Regions from separate parts of the Homo sapiens genome. Here region 1 is linked to region 2. The links are contacts of gene promoters, found by promoter capture Hi-C in human tissues and cell types (Jung and others, 2019). All regions are on one chromosome and are shown on one strand. The core of a region is centred on a gene start or on the middle of the fragment in contact, and the rest is flanking DNA. Distances in the headings are between cores, read along the strand shown. Region 1 overlaps FHIP1A (FHF complex subunit HOOK interacting protein 1A). Region 2 holds the start of TMEM154 (transmembrane protein 154).

Region 1 (6,185 bases), core at 1,345-3,844, 1.1 Mb before region 2:
CCCAGCTACTCAGGAGGCTGAGGCACAAGAATCACTTGAAACCGGGAGGTGGAGGTTGCAGTGAGCTGAGATTGCGCCACTGCACTCCAGCCTGGGTGACAGAGAGAGACTCTGTCTTAAAAAAAAGAAAAAGTGTATTCATCTGTTAGGTCTCAATACAAGCACTGCTGTGGGCAGAAGCCTTGCACTGAAGCATATGCTGACTTCTCTTATCTCCAAACTGCCAATGAACTTTCACATAGGACTGCACTGCTTAGTACTTGTTCATCAAATGAGCTTTATCTGCCAATTGCTGGAAGTTTTTTGAGGGATAAATGCTTCTTATACTTCTTTTGTGTATCCTCAGCTGCTAGTATATTGTACAGCTGGAAAACACTCAATATATATGCAGTTGGTTAAATAGATGTGTCAAAAGAAAGTGGCTAGCACTCATCACTATATTAGAATAGAGTGATGTGTTGGTTATGCTGGAAAATAAAATACCAGGGCAAAGAATTGAGATTAGCACTTAGTTTTATGTCACTGACATGGAATCAAAGAATGCTTTGGGACAGACTTTTGTAACAGAGAGGGTAGATCATCTAGTTCATCATCATTTTACAGCAGAGAAAACAAAGGCTCATGATTTGGAAAGAAATGTTCAGAGTCTGTGAGCTTAATATTTGTGAGAGGAATAGAGGATATGAAGCAGATGATCTTTCAGTTCTTTAATATTTGATTATGTTTACAAGGTTTGTGTGGTAGCTTTATGTTTGCATTAGAGGGTCCTCTAAGTGTTCCAAAGTGCTTTTCTATTATCCTGTAGATCCTCACTTCTTTATGTGCTCGCCAAAATCTGTGGAGGAAGGCACTTTTCACAGAAGCCTTCACATCTCATCGTTTACCTTCTTCATTGACACATGTCAACTCACTGCGGTAGATTACATAGTATGCAGGCCTGAGACATCAGGCTTGTTTTCCGTTTGTAGCAGTTGGGACACCAGAATATTACTTCACTTGCCCATGGTCACCAGATGCTAAGAATTAAAATGCAAGTGTCTTATATTCATTCCCATTGCAGACCATTTTCTACTACTCCATGATGTTTTTCTCTTCTTTAAATTATCATCTGGAGACCCTGAGAGAATCCTGGCTGAGAAAGGGAGCACATTTGTGATTCCCTGATCAGCAAAGAGATCGGTTAATGCAAGTACCTTAAGCACCCAGGGTAGAAGGTTATGAACCCCAGATTGGAGAAAGGATGGCCTGGCTTTGATGAGTGCTGAGAGAGGATGCTGCCCTGTGCCAGAGTGGAACAGGAAGCGGGAGCTGATACCTGAGAAGGACAGGTCAGCTAGCCAGCTCTCAGGGAGGGGTTTCCAGGACAGCCTTATTACTTGCTTTATGTTGTAGACTTCTCAAGACATCCATGATCATATTTAACTATTGTACAAAAATAGCAAACAAAATATAAGTAGTGTTTTGGTCATTTGTGCCACTGTTTTTTTCCAGTAAATTAAAACAATTTTTGGTTTTTAACTTAAAAAATTAAATGTTAGTGTTGTCTCTTATTGGTTAGTTAACAGAAAAGCTAATAGAGAAGTTAGTCTGTCTAGTGTATATTTTTAAACAGATTTCAAACACTGAGTTGTTGCATGAGTAAGTCATGAAGTCAATTTGGTAGGTCACAATTTAAAGTTGAATAAAATAGAAAATATCAGAGTGCATTGCACTTAGTAATGGTGAGTACTAGATATTATTGTAAAATATTTTTATTTTGATGAGTCTTAGTGTTAAAAAGTTTGAAAACACTGAATGGGAGAATGTTACTAGATTACTTGTTACTTGATGTTACATTTCTGCTTTATCATGGGCTGCGAATAAATGTTAGTTGGTATTCTTCAGTTCTAAAACATTCATTTGTTAATTATTTCATTCAACATATATATTTTAAGCACCCAATATATGCCAGGCACTGTTCTAAGTGTTTGCTGGGGTTGAGATATCTATAGCAATTTACTTACAAAGCATATTTTATTTCTCTTACTCAGAGAAAACACTGAATCGGTGTGCCTAAGGTTTAGCTGTGGATAACAGAAAACTCCCTTTACATTACAGAAAACTCCCTTTAATGATCCTTTCATATTCTGCACACCAGTTCTATTTACAACTCACTAGCCAAAACATACATAGTAACATCTAGATGCAAAGGAAGCAGGGAAATGTGGTTTTTTATTATAAAGTCAGGGTTTATTCCCAAGGAAGAGAGGGAGAATAAATATTGGGGAGACATTTAGTAGTGCCTGCCATAAACCTCAAAGCTTCTTACATGTAAACAAAATTTCATTTCCATTGATGGGAAACTGGAAATTTCTATTATTATAATTATTGGAAAGGCACAAGCTTTGCAGGGCCACTGCATAGAGTTGGGCAGGTTGTCTACTGCACAAGGGCAGCCTGCTGAGGGTGCAGATAGGAGAGATGGTGTTCATGTTCCATTTGCCAGACTTTGTGTCCTGGCATGGGGCTGTGTCCACCCACAGGAAGAGGCACCCTTCTCTAATTGGCAGAAGACACCTTCTTCTCTGGCCAAGCCATCTGCTTACCAAACTGTGGGCTTGGGGGGCTACTTTGCCCAAAGAGATCTATTTCTAATTTGCAGAAATGCCCTATATGGGCTGGCTGTGGCTCAGAGGCCAGTCTCAACTAGCCTAGAGGTCGTCTTAAGCATTTGACCCTGACATACCTGATTCTGTCCCTTCTTCTAGTATAGCTCTTCTTGCCTGGTTTTATATTTTTAAAATAATAGAAGTTAGCTGACAAAACTGTATGCATTGTCTTATCACAAATAGGCACAGAGTAAATTTTCAGAGGCTGAGTAGATCTACAGGTCCTACAGAGTCTCCTCATCCCTGACCTCTCCATTACTTCTCTTCCATTGTAGGAAAGGAAATTAGCATTATAAATTAAGCTTACATTGATCTCTGATTTGAAATGGAAAATTAGATATCTTTTTTTTTTTTTAACTTCAACAAGTGCATGAGGGAGATAATGGTACCAAACGATTGGGTTCTTAAGCATCAGAATTATGAAAAGATAGAAAGGGTCCCACCCTCCCTACACACCGAGAATAAAAAAAAAAAACCCCACACAAAACCCCACCTTATCTAAGGCAGCCAGGTGGTATTCATCTTGGAAACAAATGCAGAGAGTGGAGGGAAGATCTGGTCTGAAAGTTGGTGTGAATCTTTTATTCTTTCCCTGCACTATCCTAAGAGAACATTAAAAATTTATCAGCAACAAAGGCCCTGCAAGATTTTCTTCAAGTAAGAAAACCAAAAAGCAAGGAAAACAGAGAAGGAGTTTAGTCTGTTTATTTTATCTTCTTGCTAAATTTTCTCTCACCGCACACTAAGTTTTTTTTGAGGGCTTGCTGTCCCCTCATTTTTGTGTCTGACTTGCGTTTCAGGTGAGGTAAAGCAGGAATCATTCTGATGGGATGCTCCTCTGTGATTATCCAGTGCCAGATGATGTGCAGGTCTGGGACAACAGAGAGAAACGAACAGAATAACTGCAATTATTGAATTTGTTTGGGCAGATATGTGTGTGTTTTCTGCCTTCCCATTGTATTGAGGTCTTTCCGGTGCTCATGGAAAATAAGCTAGGAGTGAAATCTGTCTTTTATCATCAGAGCTTGCTTTGTTACTTTGTTACAGTTTGAGTGTCTAGGAAAATTGGTCTAAACTTAAATTCCACTGCCGAATGATACATTTAACCCATCAGGGAGATTGTGTGTGTGTGGCAGGGGGTGGTGGGGGGTGCGTGGGGGAGGAGTTGGGGGGGTTGCGTGGAATGGAATGGCAGGCATTAGATGCTGCGTTTTTGCAGTGGTTCTCAGATACTTCATTCTAGAGAAGCTGCTGGTTGGGGTTCTGGCCCATGGACCATTTCCCCTCTACTGTGGGTTTTAAAGTCAGTCTCATCAGCATTCAGTAGTATTGTCTTATTAATCAGGAAGATAAATAGGGAGAAGCCTGAGGAAGCATTTCTTTTTTTTTTTTTCCAGTGGATCACTTTTCGAGGTTGCCATAATTGAAGAGCATGGAATGAGTTACGCTCTGCATTTTCAATGAAATGTTATTCACTATAAATGGAAAATTTCCCCTGCTGTTCAGGCATTGTAAAATTAATATAACTACCCTGCTAAGGAAGGCATCCCCAACATGGGCTGTTGGAAATCCAGTGTTTTTATTAGTAACAGGGCTGCTGATTTCCATCTTGACACATTTATTGATTACTCTGAGTACCTGGTGGTGCATCAGGTCCTTTGAGAATTCATGTTGCAGGTCAGTTGTAGTCATTTCTGCAGTAAGTTTGCAATCTTAAAGGATGAATATGTGTATTATGAAAACTGAGAAGGGGAACTGACAGCCTAGAAAAGGGGAGTCTGAGAGGTTTAATAAGAATTCTGGAATAGGAAAGTTGAGTTTTGGGGGGACAGCATTTCTCCATCACCACTTATTAAGATGAGGGCAGGGTAAGGTACAATTTAAATTACAGCAGGTGGAATCTCCCTTTATAATGAGGAGTACTTTCTTCTGATGCAAAAGATTATGAGCCTCGACTAAGCTGTGTTGCTGAAAGAAGCCGTGTAATCTCTGTTTGAATTTGAAAGAAGGGTGTCGTGGGTGTCTGTGTTTTGGCAGCCCAGCACCAGACCTCTTTTTCTTTCTAAGCCTGTCTCTCCAGCCTTCTGGTGATTCTGTGAGACACCCCTTCAGTAAGTATCTTTTCTGCTTGGACCATCTGGAGTTAGTTCTCATAAGATTGTTGGGACTCAAATAACTGAAACAATATGCTTCGAATAGTCCTTAGTTGCATACTCGGTGCTCAGTAACTGGTCAGTGATGTTGTTTTTATTGTTTCTTAAATTGTAACCAAGAAGTTTGAATCAAAAAAGGACTCTGTGGAACAATTAGTAAACAAGAAAGAGAAGAACCAAGTGATCTTTGGAATACCCCTCAGATCTTTGTTTCTGAGCCAAAATGCCCCCATATTTCCTTGTTAATTATTACCTCAGGACCATGCTATGAATTACCTTTCTTATGGGTTATTTGGGTATTCAATAGTTAAACTTTATTAGATGAGGTTCAAGTATAATGGATCATATACTGCATTATACTCTAATAAATTATATCATAATGAAGCTGTAGGGTACAAGTTATGCACACATAGTATAGGAAAGGAGGCTATAGACGTAGCCATTTGCTGAATCCTCCAAGGAGAGAGGTTTATGATAAGCAAGCAAAAATAACTTTGGATGTGATGAAAGCAGTAACCCTTCAACTTGGCCAACGCTAGTTGCAGCATCGGCCCATTGGACATAGGACCATTTTTATTGGCAATGACAGCTTTATTCTTGTTCTGTCAGTATTGGTCAGCTTGTCCTGTGGGATTAGAATCAGGTTTAGATTGGCTAACATTGGCAAATACAGATGAAAATATGTTTTAGGGAGTTTCTGTGTCCCCTCTTAACCACAGCCTGTTCTAGGACACACTGAATCTTTGGGGCTGAGGTAGCCTATCCCTTGTGACCACCTCAAAATCTTCTGATTCTATAAAATGCCTGGGAGGGAATGGGGAGGGAGTGGAAATGGATGAGGTGTTCATTTTCTATAAGGGAGGTTGTACTTTTCCCCCTCCACCCCCGAAAATATGTACAGACAGGCAAATTTTGTTCTTTTGCCACCAACACTCCCGCTGACTTCCTGGTCCTTTTTTTTTTTTTTTTTTTTTCGCCTCAATTTGGCTTATTTTAAACTGATGACCCAAGTCAGGAAATAATAGCCATCCTTTACTGAGTCCTTTCTATGTGTTGAGATTTATGCACATTCTCTTTAATCCTCTTAATACTTTCAAAGATATTGATTATCCCCATTTTGCAGAGGAGGAAACAGGCTTAGATTAAATAACACAATAAAGGTTATAAAGGTAATAAATGTTAGGATTTGAACTCTAGTTTGTGTAGCTCCAAAGCCTCTCCTTTTTCTGAAAACCACTCTCTATTATCTTCCTCTCGCTGTTTTCCTCAAAACCTCATTTTCTGCTCAGAGCTGGCAACCGTATTCTCTGCAAGGCTAACATAACTTCTGATATAGACCTCACATAAGTTCAGGTCTTAAGTAGAATTTACTAATGCATTTGCC
Region 2 (5,499 bases), core at 2,330-4,829:
ACTCCTGAGGCAGAATCTTACTTAGATTCACTAATTAGCTGTGTGACCTTGGGCAAGTCACTTAGCCTCTCTGTGCCTCAGTTTTCTCAAATGTAAAAACAGGGATAATAGTGCCCACCTTATAAGGTTGTTCTGAGAATTAAATGAGTTAGTGAATGTAGCATTTAGAATAGTGCCTGACCTATAATGAGTTCTATATATGTTAGCTACTATTGTTATTAATACTTGAAATTGGGACTGTCCCAGGAAACAGCAGATGTCAGCCGTGTTCATTAAAATAAGATATGAGATACCACAGTGTCAGAATGTGTAGCCTTACTTACATAGCTAGTATTTTCTACTATTCTTTCTCTCCTTGTCAAGATTCATCCAATACTTATATAATTCTTATTCTTCTGAACCAGCCCAGAAAATCTCCCATTCCTCTCTGTTTGGCCACCAAAACAGTCACAGCATCCTTGTTTCTGCCTCATGGCCTTCAGCTCTCCCTTCTGCAACAATTCTGCTTTTAGCAACTAACAAATCCCATGCTTTTGGTATTTAGGAAATTGCTTTTGGTTTTCTGATAGTATTAAGCTGACACTGACAGGGCATAAAGAACAGAGACGGGGACACCCCTGCCCCACTTTACTCCATGAGCAGAACATCTCCTTGAGTTTGAACTTTCTTAGGATCCTACACTGGCCAAGGCACCTAGGCCCAAGCTTTCCTTTAACTATGCTCACCCATTCCATTATAGTCCCAGAAAAGCTGCTTTCTTATTTCTCTCCTGGTGACTTCCAAGTGAATTATTTCTCTTGGGGTAGAACTCAATTCTATGTCAGGCTATCTATCTCTAAAAAGAGAAGAGGTCGCTGACTCAGAGGTAACAGTGCTGGTCTCATGCAACTGCAGATATTATCTCATGTTGCCTGCTCGTTGTTAATAAAGGCTTAATTTGAGATACATCTCAGAGTATACTCACAAACAGTGTCAGGCCCTTCAGTAGGTTGGATTCATCTAACAAACATCCCCAGGTATTTTTTGAAGAATTCAAGGAAATATACCTGTGACACCTAGAAAGTAACTCATATCCTGAAGCCTTAGGCACTATTAGCTAAAAGTAGTGTACATTAATTAATTTTAAAAATCTTTAATTTAAAATCACCTTTTCCATGATGAATCATCTCAAAGTCATAGCTTTTATTCAACAGCTTTTTGCAAGTGGGCATTTTTCAGACATTGGGAATCCCAGCAGGGCCCAATTAGCATGTTGGATTATTTAGGTAATCCCTGCACTCTACTGAAATGCAACTTTTCATCTTTGACTTCTCTTTACATTCCAACACTACCTGTTTTCAGGAGCTATCAGTTTTTTTTGTAATCAGCCTCATATCCATTCTAGGGATGATTTTCATATTTATCAACAATTATTTTCTCATTTATGCTGAGCCCTTACAGGATTTTGGAAAGTCAAAGGTGAACTACAGAGGATTTTCCCTGGAGCTGTTCACAGCCAGTTGGGAGGCATGGACACAATTATGGTTCAAAGTGATTAGCAGAAGTTTAGGTCTATCGGGGCACAGCAGCAGGTACGAGTAGAGCTCCAGGGAAGGGGCAGAGAAAGGAGACATCAAGGAGGAGATCACATTTAGTTTGATACTTTTAAGGTGATACAAGAATTTGCTAGGTAGGAAAAAGAATGTATTCATTATAGGCAAGAGCCACGGAGGGGGACGACAACTGGAAGGAGGTGCCACTGGGAAGGAGGTTGCAGTGAGAGTCTAAGGGGCAAAAATGAGGAACAAGTGAAGGGGCATAAATGAGGGGTCCTTAAGGGGGAAGATGTGCACGATCAGATTCAGGTGTCAGAAAGGCAACTTTAACCAAGTCTCTTCAGATTCTCTTTTTGCATCTCCTGAATTGCAGACACTAGGACTCAATCATTTTTTAGAAGCTAAAAAAAAAGTTCAGGCAAGATGAATTAGTATTAAGGGAGTGTTTGAGGCACCTGTGGCAGTGTTGTGCAATAGAAGAGGTGGAAGGAGGATGGCTAGGCTTTTCTTCCCTGATGTCCTACTACGAAAGGTTCCAGAGCTCTTGGCAGAGACAGTGATTGGTTCCGGGGCGGCGGTGGGGGGAGGGGGGCAGTGGTGGTGGGGGGTGGAGGAGCTCAAAGAACTCTGGAGTAGAAGCCAGAAGAGCTGACTAGCAGCAAGACCCAGACATCTCCCTTCTTCCACCTCTGTTTCTTCACCTGTGTGCCCAATATGGTTTGAGCTGCATCATCTTCAAGTTCCCTTCCAGCTCCAAAACACTGGGCATAAAACAACACATCAACTTCCAAACCCACTCTGAACACTAAACTCAATTTAACCAGACATCTTTTCAGCTGGAATGATTTGCCTTCCACTTTGTTTTCTACCTCAGATGCCTGGGGGACCACATGGAGAACACCCAGGGGAAGAGAAATTGATGGAGTGGGGTGGCTGGGTGCTGGCTGCTGACCTCCAGGAAGTTGTCACATCTGTTAGGTTGGGGCTGATGTCCCTCATTCTATCTAAAGAACTGTAGCTTGAGAACTTTCCTTTTGCTTGGTAAATACTGCCCTACACTAGAAGCAGTCGGTGTTCATTGACAGAAACAATGGGCAGCCAGTGTATTTGCCCAAAGGCAAGTCAACAAGAGAGGCAGCTGAAGGTGCTTGTGCTTGTTGTAGCAACTGGCAAGGGTGTAAATCAGTTGTTGCTTTTAGCCCATAATAATGAGATTCAATATTGTTTTTTCCAATACCTTTGATTGGTTCCAATCATATTACTTTTTCAAACAAATCTTCATTAGTAACAATCAATGCAAAAAAAAAATCTGTAAAAGTAACAAGGTGCAATAAAAGTAGATGAAAGACCTTACTTGATGTGTTAGAGGGCTACCCTCTAACACATAGCTCTTTGGTAGCTCTTCGGATAATTTCCCGTTTCCTTTTTTTTTTTTTAAGTTTATGTCGTTTCTTTAGTATGCTTTCTAGTAGTAAATTTTCACACCCCAGTTTTTCCAGGAGATTTTGGAATCAGCAGACTTCTCAGCCCACACCATAAAAAGCAAATTAATCATGTCTCTGTTTCAGCCAATTGAAGCTTTTGTTTTTTTTTACATAAACTGCCAAAAAGTTTATGGTTTTCTTAATATGCCCATTAAAGCTGGTAAATTACAGGGACGCACACTTCCTGGAAGACAAAGACTGAAAGAGGGTTAAATGAAGTGAGAGCTGTAGCCAGTTTAGACAGCTGCAGCGAAAGCGAAGTCCCCTCTCCATCCCACCCCCCAAAAAAAGGAGTTCTAATTTTCTCCACTTCTTTCACAGAAAGGATTAGATTTTCTGGGTGTCACCCTCCCCGGCAGAGTTCTGTAGCCTCGGGCACCCTACCAGCTTTTGCGATCCTCCTTCCCAGGAGTAGGAAGTGGAGGCGGCTTACCCCGGCCGACGGGAACGAGCGCGATCACCAGGGCGAAGACTAGGGCTGCGCGGGGAGCCTGCATGTCCGCTCGCCTCGGCAGAGGCGCGCTCAGGATGCTGCGCCGGGCTGCAGCCTCTCTGAAACGTGAACATTTCCTGTTTCCTGCTTGTTTGGGTCGGTGCTGACTTGAAGGAGAGGTGTGTGCCTGTTTTTTAGGAAGTGATGTAATTCTGCAGGAGCCTGTCAGACCAGCAAGGATTGCAAAAGAGAAGTTGCTGTTGAAGCACTGGTTCTATTATCACGCCTCTCCAGCCCTTTGGAGTCCCGGCCTCCAGCTTTTGAAACCGTCCCCGGGGCAACAGAGTCCCTTGCTCAGATGTCGTTCGGTATCTGGGACTGGGAGGGGTCCTGGACCACACGCATTCTCACTCTGTGATTTTGCTTATCCCCCAGGTGAGGCTCCGGGGCTGCCTAGACCCTAGGAAGAAGCTGTCCTGTAGAACTTTCTGCCCTGATGGAAATGTTCCAAGTCTGCGCCGTCTGATACAGTATCAGCCACATTGGCCACTGAGCATTTGAACTGAGGCTAGTGCTGATGGAATTTAAATTTTATTGAATTTTTATAAAATTTTAATAACTCCAAGTGGCTAGTGGCTGCTGTGTTGGATAGCGCAGGCCCAGACAGCAGGGACAACTGCATCATCAGAAAACTGCCAGACCACTTCTCTCCGCCAGGTCCATTCTCCTTTCTCCACTCTGGAATGCCCTCCTCCCACCAAGGCCCACGCCAGATGGAGGTGGATGCCACACCCACACCTTAAGGTTATGTTCTGCTTCCCCAGAGAGAAATGATCTTTTCAAGGTCCATTTCCAAAGGAGAATATGCTCTGAGGGTGGAGGTAGGGGTGAATCTGCATCTCACCTTCCTTCCTTCTTACTTGACAATCAAGTTCTCAGACAACAAACAAAACAGGACAGAAACGAAATAGAATAATGGTAGAAATCCTATCCAATCGAAACAATACAGAAAGGTTGTGTCTAGTATACAGTGGAGATTAGTGTGTGTTGGGTGTTCTATTGGAGGTCCTTCCCTTGGTTTAGGTTTAGGGCCTAAGCATTCAGAATGCAGTTTCATAATCGTGGTGCCAAGAGAGACAGACAGATGGAGAGAGGGGTAGTGTTGAGGCATCAGACACATCTCATCTCTAAACCTTTCCCTGCAGATCACCATCTGAGTCATGACTTCCCGTCGTTTGTCTTCAGTGATCTGGTTGGTGCAAACGTATGAGGTGACTGGAATTCCTTAGCCCCTGACATAGCTGTTAATTTTTCTTTAATGCATTGCTGCTTTTCAATGTCATTAGTCACTGTTTATCTCAGTTATTATTCACAAGAAATAGGTTGGTGATTCATGTAAGGATCAGTTTGTTAATGGATTTACAGTATGCACTTTAATGTTTTAAACTGGCAATTAAGTCAATTCTTGATAAAATATGCTTTTTGCACCACAGGTGACAATACAGAACAAACAGCAGGAGAAAATAGACGTGCTCAAAACTGGGTGATTGATTTGAAAACAACAGAGAAAGAACTATTAATTAAACACTTGCTGAGCATGTGAATAGATCACGGGCTCCAAGACCTGCTGGTACTGAGTTGGGGTGGCAATTATTCCTGTACAAGCACGTGTTTCTGCAGCTGTGACACACACGTGCAAGAAAGCAGGCCCAGGGCTTGGGAGTTCTCTCCATTTTACCATTTATGCCCTATTAAAATATTATTAAATGTTATTAAAACATTGTTGAATCCCAGGCTGGAGGCAAATGTTTGTCAAGGGCAAGGTTGTCAGCCTTCGTTTCTTTCATCTTAAACTTCAGCTCCCTGTGGAAGCTTTTGCAGTCAGGTGTCTGTGGATTGGACCACAGACTGTCTTATTCTGTGGACCTCTGCTGAGCCCCATGACATGGCCAAACAGTTCATTACTGTTTCAACAAGTGCACTATGCATTGCTTCTGAGCAGTGCAACACTAAATCAGAGTGAGGTACAAAATAAACTGGAGCTGCA

Evidence for each region. The method cuts DNA at HindIII sites, captures the fragments that hold promoters and counts their contacts. A contact is called where the count stands out against the background at its distance.
Region 1: a contact is called between a fragment that was not itself captured here and the fragment with the promoter of TMEM154 in region 2, in 1 of the 25 tissues and cell types used here (aorta).

Annotation. Positions count from the first base shown.
Region 1 is chr4:151,617,768-151,623,952 of GRCh38, forward strand. All of the region lies in intron 7 of FHIP1A (FHF complex subunit HOOK interacting protein 1A), which reads left to right. Among named protein-coding and RNA genes, the nearest start is that of GATB, 140 kb to the right of the region's middle. The HindIII fragment of the contact is 5,758 bases long and covers 1-5,473 here.
Region 2 is chr4:152,676,418-152,681,916 of GRCh38, forward strand. TMEM154 (transmembrane protein 154) reads right to left here and starts at 3,580. Exons shown (of 7, transcript NM_152680.3): 1 at 3,453-3,580. The coding sequence starts at 3,516. It overlaps LOC105377495 (a long non-coding RNA gene), which reads left to right and starts at 3,668. Exons shown (of 4, transcript XR_939359.3): 1 at 3,668-3,887; 2 at 4,170-4,256; 3 at 4,658-4,723; 4 at 4,946-5,245. RefSeq lists enhancers at 57-146, 3,214-4,043, 3,354-3,663. The HindIII fragment of the contact is 4,840 bases long and covers 1,909-5,499 here.